3 separate regions of the Homo sapiens genome follow, and regions 2 and 3 are each linked to region 1. Evidence: promoter capture Hi-C in human tissues and cell types (Jung and others, 2019). All regions are on one chromosome and are shown on one strand. The core of a region is centred on a gene start or on the middle of the fragment in contact, and the rest is flanking DNA. Distances in the headings are between cores, read along the strand shown.

Evidence for each region. The method cuts DNA at HindIII sites, captures the fragments that hold promoters and counts their contacts. A contact is called where the count stands out against the background at its distance.
Region 2: a fragment that was not itself captured here is called in contact with the fragment with the promoter of FYTTD1 in region 1 in 1 of the 25 tissues and cell types used here (lymphoblastoid cells).
Region 3: a contact is called between a fragment that was not itself captured here and the fragment with the promoter of FYTTD1 in region 1, in 2 of the 25 tissues and cell types used here (H1 embryonic stem cells and lymphoblastoid cells).

What each region holds. Positions count from the first base shown.
Region 1 is chr3:197,748,514-197,751,288 of GRCh38, reverse strand. It overlaps FYTTD1 (forty-two-three domain containing 1), which reads right to left and starts at 1,406. Exons shown (of 9, transcript NM_032288.7): 1 at 1,215-1,406. The coding sequence starts at 1,317. It also overlaps a transcript of RUBCN not described here. RefSeq lists silencers at 900-1,169, 1,270-1,609. The HindIII fragment of the contact is 9,451 bases long and covers 1-2,775 here.
Region 2 is chr3:197,238,251-197,241,025 of GRCh38, reverse strand. The region is part of intron 4 of DLG1 (discs large MAGUK scaffold protein 1); the gene reads left to right. Among named protein-coding and RNA genes, the nearest start is that of MIR4797, 54 kb to the left of the region's middle. The HindIII fragment of the contact is 5,787 bases long and covers 1-2,775 here.
Region 3 is chr3:197,293,416-197,296,190 of GRCh38, reverse strand. The region is part of intron 3 of DLG1 (discs large MAGUK scaffold protein 1); the gene reads left to right. It overlaps MIR4797 (microRNA 4797), which reads left to right and starts at 2,243; the gene lies at 2,243-2,313. The HindIII fragment of the contact is 6,857 bases long and covers 1-2,775 here.

The sequences.
Region 1 (2,775 bases), core at 157-2,656:
TTTCTGATCATTTGCTTAGTTCACATACTGGATTCTGACTGTGGCAATCGTAGAAATCAATAGTTCCCATCTCACCTGGAACCAAAAACGTTCCAGATAAACCACAACAAAAGACACACAAGACAAATGGGAAGAAATGAAAACCGAAAGAAGGTTTCCAAGACAGTTATCACTCTAAAGACCGTCCTGGGAAAGGGTACGCCTCGGAATCCACTAGTCAGGTACTTTTCAAATATCCGAAAAACTGCCAGCCAAACACCTGGCAGAGCTGACTTACACCCAACGCCATCACTTGAATCCCGACAAAAATATTCGTACTTTTAGCCCACCTAAGCTAACCACAGCGGCTGGTGCCTCGGTAGTGTCAGGGCTGGATTTTAATGGAATCACCAACCTCCCGGTTTTTATATAATCGGCAAGAAACCACGCCACCCTCTCAGATGCGCTCAAGAACCCCACGCTTTACCTGGCTTCTCAGCGAGCCACAGCAATCATCTCTCCTTCAAAGATGTTTGCTTTCTCCCCCATTAGCTAGCTCTGAGGCCTGGAGAGGGAGACTGTGCTTTTCTAGGCAGCGCTCAATACACAACCACATCCCACAGGCGGCCGAGCGCTGCTTCCTTTCTGACAGACGCTCCGGGGCCGCGGCCGGAGGTGGCCCCGAGAGTCGCGCCCGGCAGCCATGGCCGGCGCCGGCCTGGAACGCCCGGCGACCAGGGAAAGCTCCGGAAGCGCTGGTTTAACCGACCGCAGCCCCGGCCGGGCTCTCCAAGACCTTTCTTCAGAGAGAACGGCTCGGTCGGACCATTCCCCTCGCTCCCCGATAACGCCCACCGCGAACGCGCTCCGGGGAAACCGGCAGATCTTTCCTCACAAAGAGCCGGCGAGCGGCGAGCCGTAGCCCCTCCGGGGAGAAGAGACGCCCCCCGCGACCCTGCGAACCTTCGGGCCCGCAGCGCCCCTGCCCCCGCCTCCACAGCCCCTCCTCCGACTGCCGCGGCCGAGGGGACGCCCGGGTCCCTCGCGGTCCAGCCGGGCACCTGGCGTCGAGCCTGCGCTCCCGGCTGTCCTCCGGGCCTCCGCTCGGGTCCGCCCACCAGCGAGAAAACTCCGCCGGCAACTGCTGCCGACCGCCCCTGCCCCCACAAACCGCGCCGCCGGCTTCCACCCGCGCCCTCCCCCGCACTCCAACTCGGTCCAACTCGGCCCCTCACCCAAAGACATATCTATTTTGTCGAGGTTTTCATTGCTGCGGGCCTTCGGCGGCGGCGAAGAAGTCGCCGTGGCTCCCACCAACCGGGTACCAAACCGGTTCATGGCTGGAGACGTCGCGCCGAGAGCGGGCGCGGACAAGGCCGGAGTCGCAGGCCTGCCACCTCCCACTCGCGCACGCAGCCCGCCGCACCGAGGGAGCGCGCACGCGCCGGCGCCGTCCTCGGTCTCCACCCGCGGCTGCGGGCGGGGCGGGGCCACCGACACTCGCGGGCGACCAGAGCGGCCCCGCGCCGTGACTCGCTCCTAGCGGCCCTCGCAGGATCGGACGAGGCATTGCAGCCGCTGTGCTAGGCGCTCGCGAGGACCGCCGTTGTGAGCAGTTCGACTTTCCGCCCAAACTGGGGGATGCTAGACCGCGGGCACCTCTGAATCTTATGCCTTCAGTGATATAATCCTCCGTGTCCTTCGAGTCCCTCCTGCTGCAGACAGGTCCCCTATACTTCGGTACACACGAGCCTTTCGCGCCCACCGCAACGCAGCCTCGGGAGGCAGGACAGACCCCTGCGAGTGTAGATTGCAGCTGCATCCCAGCTCCCCCCTCCCTGGCACGCTCCTCCACCTACAGCTGCGCTGAGCTGCCGCATCTGAACGCAAAGCAAACGCTGCAGTGACGGTTCCTGCGTCACCTTAACTCCAAAGTAAATGCTAACGTTTCCCGTGTCTGTACCTTCTCTCAATCGGCACTCTCAAAACATCTGGCACGGTGTTCACTACCCTAATAAGACCTCAGCTTCCCTCGGGAGGGGTAAGTACCTCTGTTGATGTAGCTGCATTTTCTTCTAATTCATTTGCATTGGGAATGGATAGAAGGGTTCGTTTACTTTTTAATCATCCCTACGGGAAAACAGTTTAATATTTGATGAATTCCTGCATGATAACTTTTTTCCGTTTACAACATACGGTATTTACCTCTCTTCTTACCTCATTCTCCTTCCCTGAAGTAACTGCGTTTATGTGGAAGCGTTTAGGTTATATCACCCTCATACAGCTTAAAACTATCTCGGATATTTACATCTAAGGACAATACCAGATGCATTCTGTCCACCTAGAAATCTCTGTCGCCTTTCTCCTCTCCAATTCATAAAATGCAAAAATTCCTTTAGCATGGAAACCAGCCATCTCAAAACCACAGTAGCCTTTGCTTAATTTAGTCATGTCACAATGTCATGTGGCTTCCAACTTCAACACCAATGACACATTTACTATTTTTTGCTTGGGGATCCCATGTTTTAAAATATTTCTTATGCATGTCACACTTAAAAATTAAAGCCAGCTGTTCCAGCTCCCCTTTCCAGGCCTGAATTTAAAGCAAAGCTTGCAGTGACAATTTTGCGGTCACCTTAACAATAAAAGTAAATGTGAACGTTTCCTGTATATGTAGCATGGATAAAACCAGGAGTCTTCACACAGATTATGTTTCCAGCTGAACTCAAAGAACCATGACTTTTTTGTAAGCCTAGTAGTCTTATCTTGGGGAAATGTATGATTTTTGTTAGGCTT
Region 2 (2,775 bases), core at 83-2,582, 510 kb after region 1:
TCTCAAGTTGTGGAAAGTTTTCTATTATTTCTTTGAATAAGCTTTCTACCTCATGCTTTTGCTCAACTTTCTTTGAACACTAATAATTCTTACATTTTTTTTTTGAGGTAATTTTCTATATCTTATAGGCAATCTTTGTTGCTTTTCATTCTTTTTTCTCCTATGTGTGTTTTCATAGCCTGTCTCTGAGCCTAATGATTGTTTACTCTGCTTGATCCTCTCTTATGTCAAGAGCCTCTAATGAATCAGTTCAGCAAGTGTATTTCTCAGTTCCAAGATTTCTGTTTGATTTTTTTCTTTTCTTTTCTTTTGGTGTTATGACTTGGATAATTTTAAAAAATTACTTTAATCTCTTTTTAAAATTTCCTGATAAATTTCTGAATTGCATTTCTGTGTTATCTTGGAGATCACTGAGTTTTCTTAAAAATACTACTTTGAATATTGGTCAGAGAGCTCATAGATCACTATCTCATTAGTGTCAGTTATTGGTTCCTTGCTTTGTCCATTTGGGGAGATCATGGGTACCTGTTTTCTGTTGTTTGTTGTGGCTGTTTTATTCAGCCTTCTCTGTCTGGCTTGTTTTGGTTTTTACTGGATGTATTTGCTTAGAAGTTCTTTACTGTTAGGTTGCTGCCTCCTTTTTAGCTCTCTCTAGTTACCTTAAGCCCAGGTTCACCTAGGTTCTAGTAAAGAACCAGAGCACTGTTCTTCCCGAATGAGGGAGATTCCAAAGGGGATGTCCCAGTAGTGTGGGAATGCTGGCTAGGAGTTCCTGCCCAGGGGACCTGTACAATAAACCTTCTACAGATGGTGTTGATGAACATCTAATGAACATCTACTCTGATTCAGTGTCTTGCTTGGCTGAGTTACAGTAGAATTTCCAGAGCTGGAGATGGTAGTCTTGCCTCCCTTTTTTGTTTCTGCCTATCCGCAGGGATATTTTTCCCTTCTGGCATTTGAGATGCATCCTGTGGGCTAAGATAAGGGACAGTCTCCTGCCAGAGAACATTAGATGATGGGGAAGCATGAGTTATATCTCAGTCTCACTTTTTCCAGTGTAGAAACAGTGAGTTGTGGGAAAATTTTTTGCCCATTAGGTGCTGGCCAGAATGAGGGGAGGGACATCATGGATGTGGAAGTCCAATTCTTTCACCATCTGCTAGAATTCTTTTTTTTTTTTTTAACTTTTCTGTGGCCCCTGAACTGTCGCATCTTCATATGAGTTCTGGGATATTCCTGGTAATAACATCGGCTCTGTATATTTGTTTTTGGTTTTCTGTGAGAGGAGTGAAGCCAGCTTGCTTCTGTGCTGACATTTTGGAACTGGAAATCCTCTTGATTAATTTTTGTATGTTGATTTATTCTATATTCCAGGAATAAATCCCAATCCCACTGGGTCATGGTGTGTAATCCTTTTAATATGCTGTCAATCTGATTTGCTAGTATTTTATTGAGGATTTTTGTATCACTGTTCATGAAGGATATTGGTCTGTAGTTTTCTTTTCTAGTACTATCTTTGGCCTTGGTATTTGGTAGCGCTGGCTTAATGAAATGAGTTTAGGAGTGAGTAGTCCCTCCTCCTTAATTTTTTGGAAAAGTTTGAGAAGGATTGGCATTAATTTTTCTTTAAATGGTTGGCAGAATTCACCAGTGAAGCCTTCAGGTCCAGGACTTTTCTTTGTTGAAAGATTTTTGATTACTTATTCAGTGTCTCTGCTAATTATAGATCTATTTAGATTTTCTCTTTCTTCATGGTTTAGTCTTGATAGGTTTTGTGTTTCTAGGAGTTTTCCATTTCATTTAGGTTATCTAGTTTGTTGGCATTTACTTGCTCTATATAGGACTCTGTTATCCTATTTATTTCTCTAGAATTGATTGAAATGTTCTCACTTTCATTTCTGATTTTAGTAATTTGAGTCTTCTTTCTCTCTTAATTCCATATAGTTAAAGGTTTGTGTTTTTGTTTATTTAAAGAAACAACTTTTGGTTTCATTAAGTTTTTTCTTCTGTTTCTCTGTTCTCTATTTTGTGTATCTCTGCCCTCATCTTTATTATTTTTTTCCTCCTGCTAACCTTGTGTTTCGTTTGTTCTTGTTTTACTAGTTCCTTAAGTTTTAGACTAGGTTCTTGATTTGAGATCTTTCTTGTTTTGTAATGTAAGCATTTAGAGCTATACATTTACTCCTTAGCACTGCTTTCACTTTATACCATAAATTTTGTTATGTTGTGTTTTTGTGTTCATTCATATGTAAATATCTTCTAATTTCCTTTTTGATTTCTTCTTTGATTCATTGCTTGTGTAAGAGTGTGTTTAATTTCCACAAATTGGTGAATTTTCCAGTTTTCCTTCTATTACTGATTTCTGACTTCATCCAGTTGTAGCTGGAGATGATAGTTCATGTGCTATATCTATCTTTTCAAATGGATTGACATTCTGTATGGTGTCTCACAGATCCCTTAGGCTGTATTCACTTTTCACTTAAATCTTTTTCCTCTGTTGTTCACATTGAGTCTTTAGTGTTATTGTATTTTCAGTTCTGTCATTTCCATATAGTTCTTTGTGTCTTGTATTTCTTTGCTTAGACTTTCTATTTCTTTGCTGTGAGTTTTTATTATTTCATTTGTTTCATGTATATTTGTAATTGTTCATTAATTTTTTATATGACGCCTACTTTAAACTCTGTTAGGTAAGTCTAACATCTGTGGTGTCTTGATGTTGGCATCTCCTGATTGTCTTTTTATATTCAGTTTGAGATATTCCTGGTTCTCAGTGAT
Region 3 (2,775 bases), core at 74-2,573, 460 kb after region 1:
TCCTTTCTTAAAATAACTAGTAACCAAAAAACTTTCAGGATTATTTCAGTGGCTTTTGAGAACATTGTTTCACATCTTAATAGCATTAACTATTAAAAGATGTTGCACAGATGTTTAAGGACCTAAAAGGTATGACTGAGTTACTGTGAGCTTGTTTCTGTATTTGACTGGCATGTCTCTGAAGTCATTGAAAGCGTGTGAAGGGTTCTGCTGTGTTGAAGAACATTCATTCCCTTAATGTAGATTTCTGTTTGAGCTTGGCATTCATGGAGTCAGAATTTTAGACCTGGAAAATAATCTTAGAGATGATCTTGTCTAGTAACCGTATTTTACAGGCAAGAAAATGGAAAGTTTTATTCTTAATTGTAACTTAATTTGAAGTGGTGCATTGTTTGAAAGAACTGGAAAAATAAGAGTCCTGAGTTCTTTTGCCACTAATTGAATGATATATCCCAAGTCATTTAATCTTTTCTATGCCACCATATTAGCTGTAGAATGTAGCTGTTGAAATGACAGAATGGGTTTAAAGCCTTTTTTAAGTAGATAAATCATTTTTAAAAGCATCATCTCATATTTTGTGTATAATCTCCTATGTATAAAACAAGGTGACTTGTCTGGCTCTTTTGTCCAGGTACCTCAAAAAGTTTGCAAACCACCGAACTAGAAAGTTTGTCTCTTCCAATTCTAAGAATGAAGTTTTTTTTTTTTGTTTTAGTTATCAACTATATAACATTTTAACATAAGAAGACATATACTTAATTATATTACATTTATTTCTTCAGTAACTTCCAGTCAGATATGGCCTTACATCTATCTGTTGATAGAATAATTGTTGGTGTGATTTGAAGACTACTTTCAAGTCAGTGTGTCCTGTCAGGTACATTATTGATAAATGGATGCTCTCTACGGTTTTAGAATGAAAGATTTTTGTAAAGACCACTTGATGCACCTGAACAATTTTGAAAAATGTAACATTTTAATAGACTTTTAAAAACATAAGGATACATAGCACAGTGTAATGAACTGCCTTTTAACTGTTACCCAGCTCCAGAAATTCACATTTTGCCATTTTTGTTTACATTGATGGACATTTTTTACACATTTGAATTTCTGAGGTTTAAGGTCCGAATGGATGATCAAATTGGATTCCTCTGGAAAAACAGCAAAAAGCATTTTTTAGTTATTTGTTTTCTAAATCAACATTGAGCCTAGTAATTTGGTGCAGTTACTGTTGCAAAAAAAGTATGTTTTTTCGCAACAGTATAGAGATATATATATACATATATGTATAGATAGGCAGATAGATAGACTGCAGACTTTTCTTTGTGTGATGGCTGTAACTTAAGAAAATTAAATCGTTAGTGAAATAACAGAATCTACATTTATATTTCTGTCTAGATTGGGGATGGGTTTGCTGTGTTCAGAGACATTTTTGACCTATTCTGCCTTGCCTGTTTTGAATGTGTCTATTCTTACGTACAATTGAACTTTGATAGAGTTAGCTTTCTTCTCTTTTTTTTTTTTTTTTTTTTTGAGGCAGAGTCTCACTCTGTCACCCAGGCTGGAGTGCAGTGGCGAGATCTCCGCTCACTGCAAGCTCCGCCTGCCAGGTTCACGCCATTCTCCTGCCTCAGCCTCCTGAGTAGCTGGGACCAAAGGTGCCCACCACCACGTCCGGCTAATTTTTTATTTTTTGTATTGTATTTTTAGTAAAGACGGGGTTTCACTGTGTAAGCCAGGATGGTCTCGATCTCCTGACCTCGTGATCCACCCACCTCGGCCTCCCAAAATGTTGGGATTACAGGCGTGAGCCACCGCGTCTGGCCTAGAGTTAGCTTCCTAATTACTAAGTTTATATTTGTGAATCTTCTAATTTCATTGGTTGTGAATTTACTTTGACATTTAAATTTACTTATATTTAATGTTCTATAGGATGTGGTACTATATCACATTTTGGTGTAAGACAAGTAATAGATTTTAGGAGTTTTGAAATAGATAACGTTTAATAGAGGTTCTGTGTGTTTCCATGCTATAATTGTTGATACTACGGAATAAATACATTCTCTTGTGTTTCCTGAATAACTTTTAATACTTAGTCTGAAAATGTTTAGTCTGATAAGATTTTCTTTGTATTTTGCAACTCTACCATTGTTTTGAAACAGTGTCATAAATGTACTTTAAGCTTGTAAACTGCCCTAAGCTAAACCAGTTCATTGTGTCCATAGTGTTTGCAGAAAAATCCGACTCAGAAGACAGAGTGCCACTTACTGAAAGGTTTTTTCTCTCAGTAAGTGGCACTCTGTCTTCTGAGTTGGTACCTGTGGACCACTGGATTAAAGGAGAACAGGGGTCTTGGCCACCTGAGCTGTTTGGAGTCATTGAGTGCTTAGATTTTTCACTTCCTTAATTTGGAAATCACTTGTTTAGGCCGCAGTGAGTTATCTAGTTATCTGTTTGGGGTGCCAAGTGTCTTTGGATTTTCAGTCTGCATTGATCATTTATTGATTGATTCTTTGAACTGGTAGTTTATATTGACTTTTCATGCATTTAAAAAAGTTTGAGTCTCTAGGGGTTTGGTGTCCCCCCCTGTAGTTGATACATAGATTAGGTTCCTGTACTTTTGGATTATTCAGAGGGACAAGCATGTACGTACTGTATTATATTTGTTCTAAAATACCAACTGTTAAATATTTCAATATCTGGTATATGTCATTTTTAATTGACAGTGTTTCTGTGTTCTGACACATGAAATAGTGCATTTTATAATTGATACTC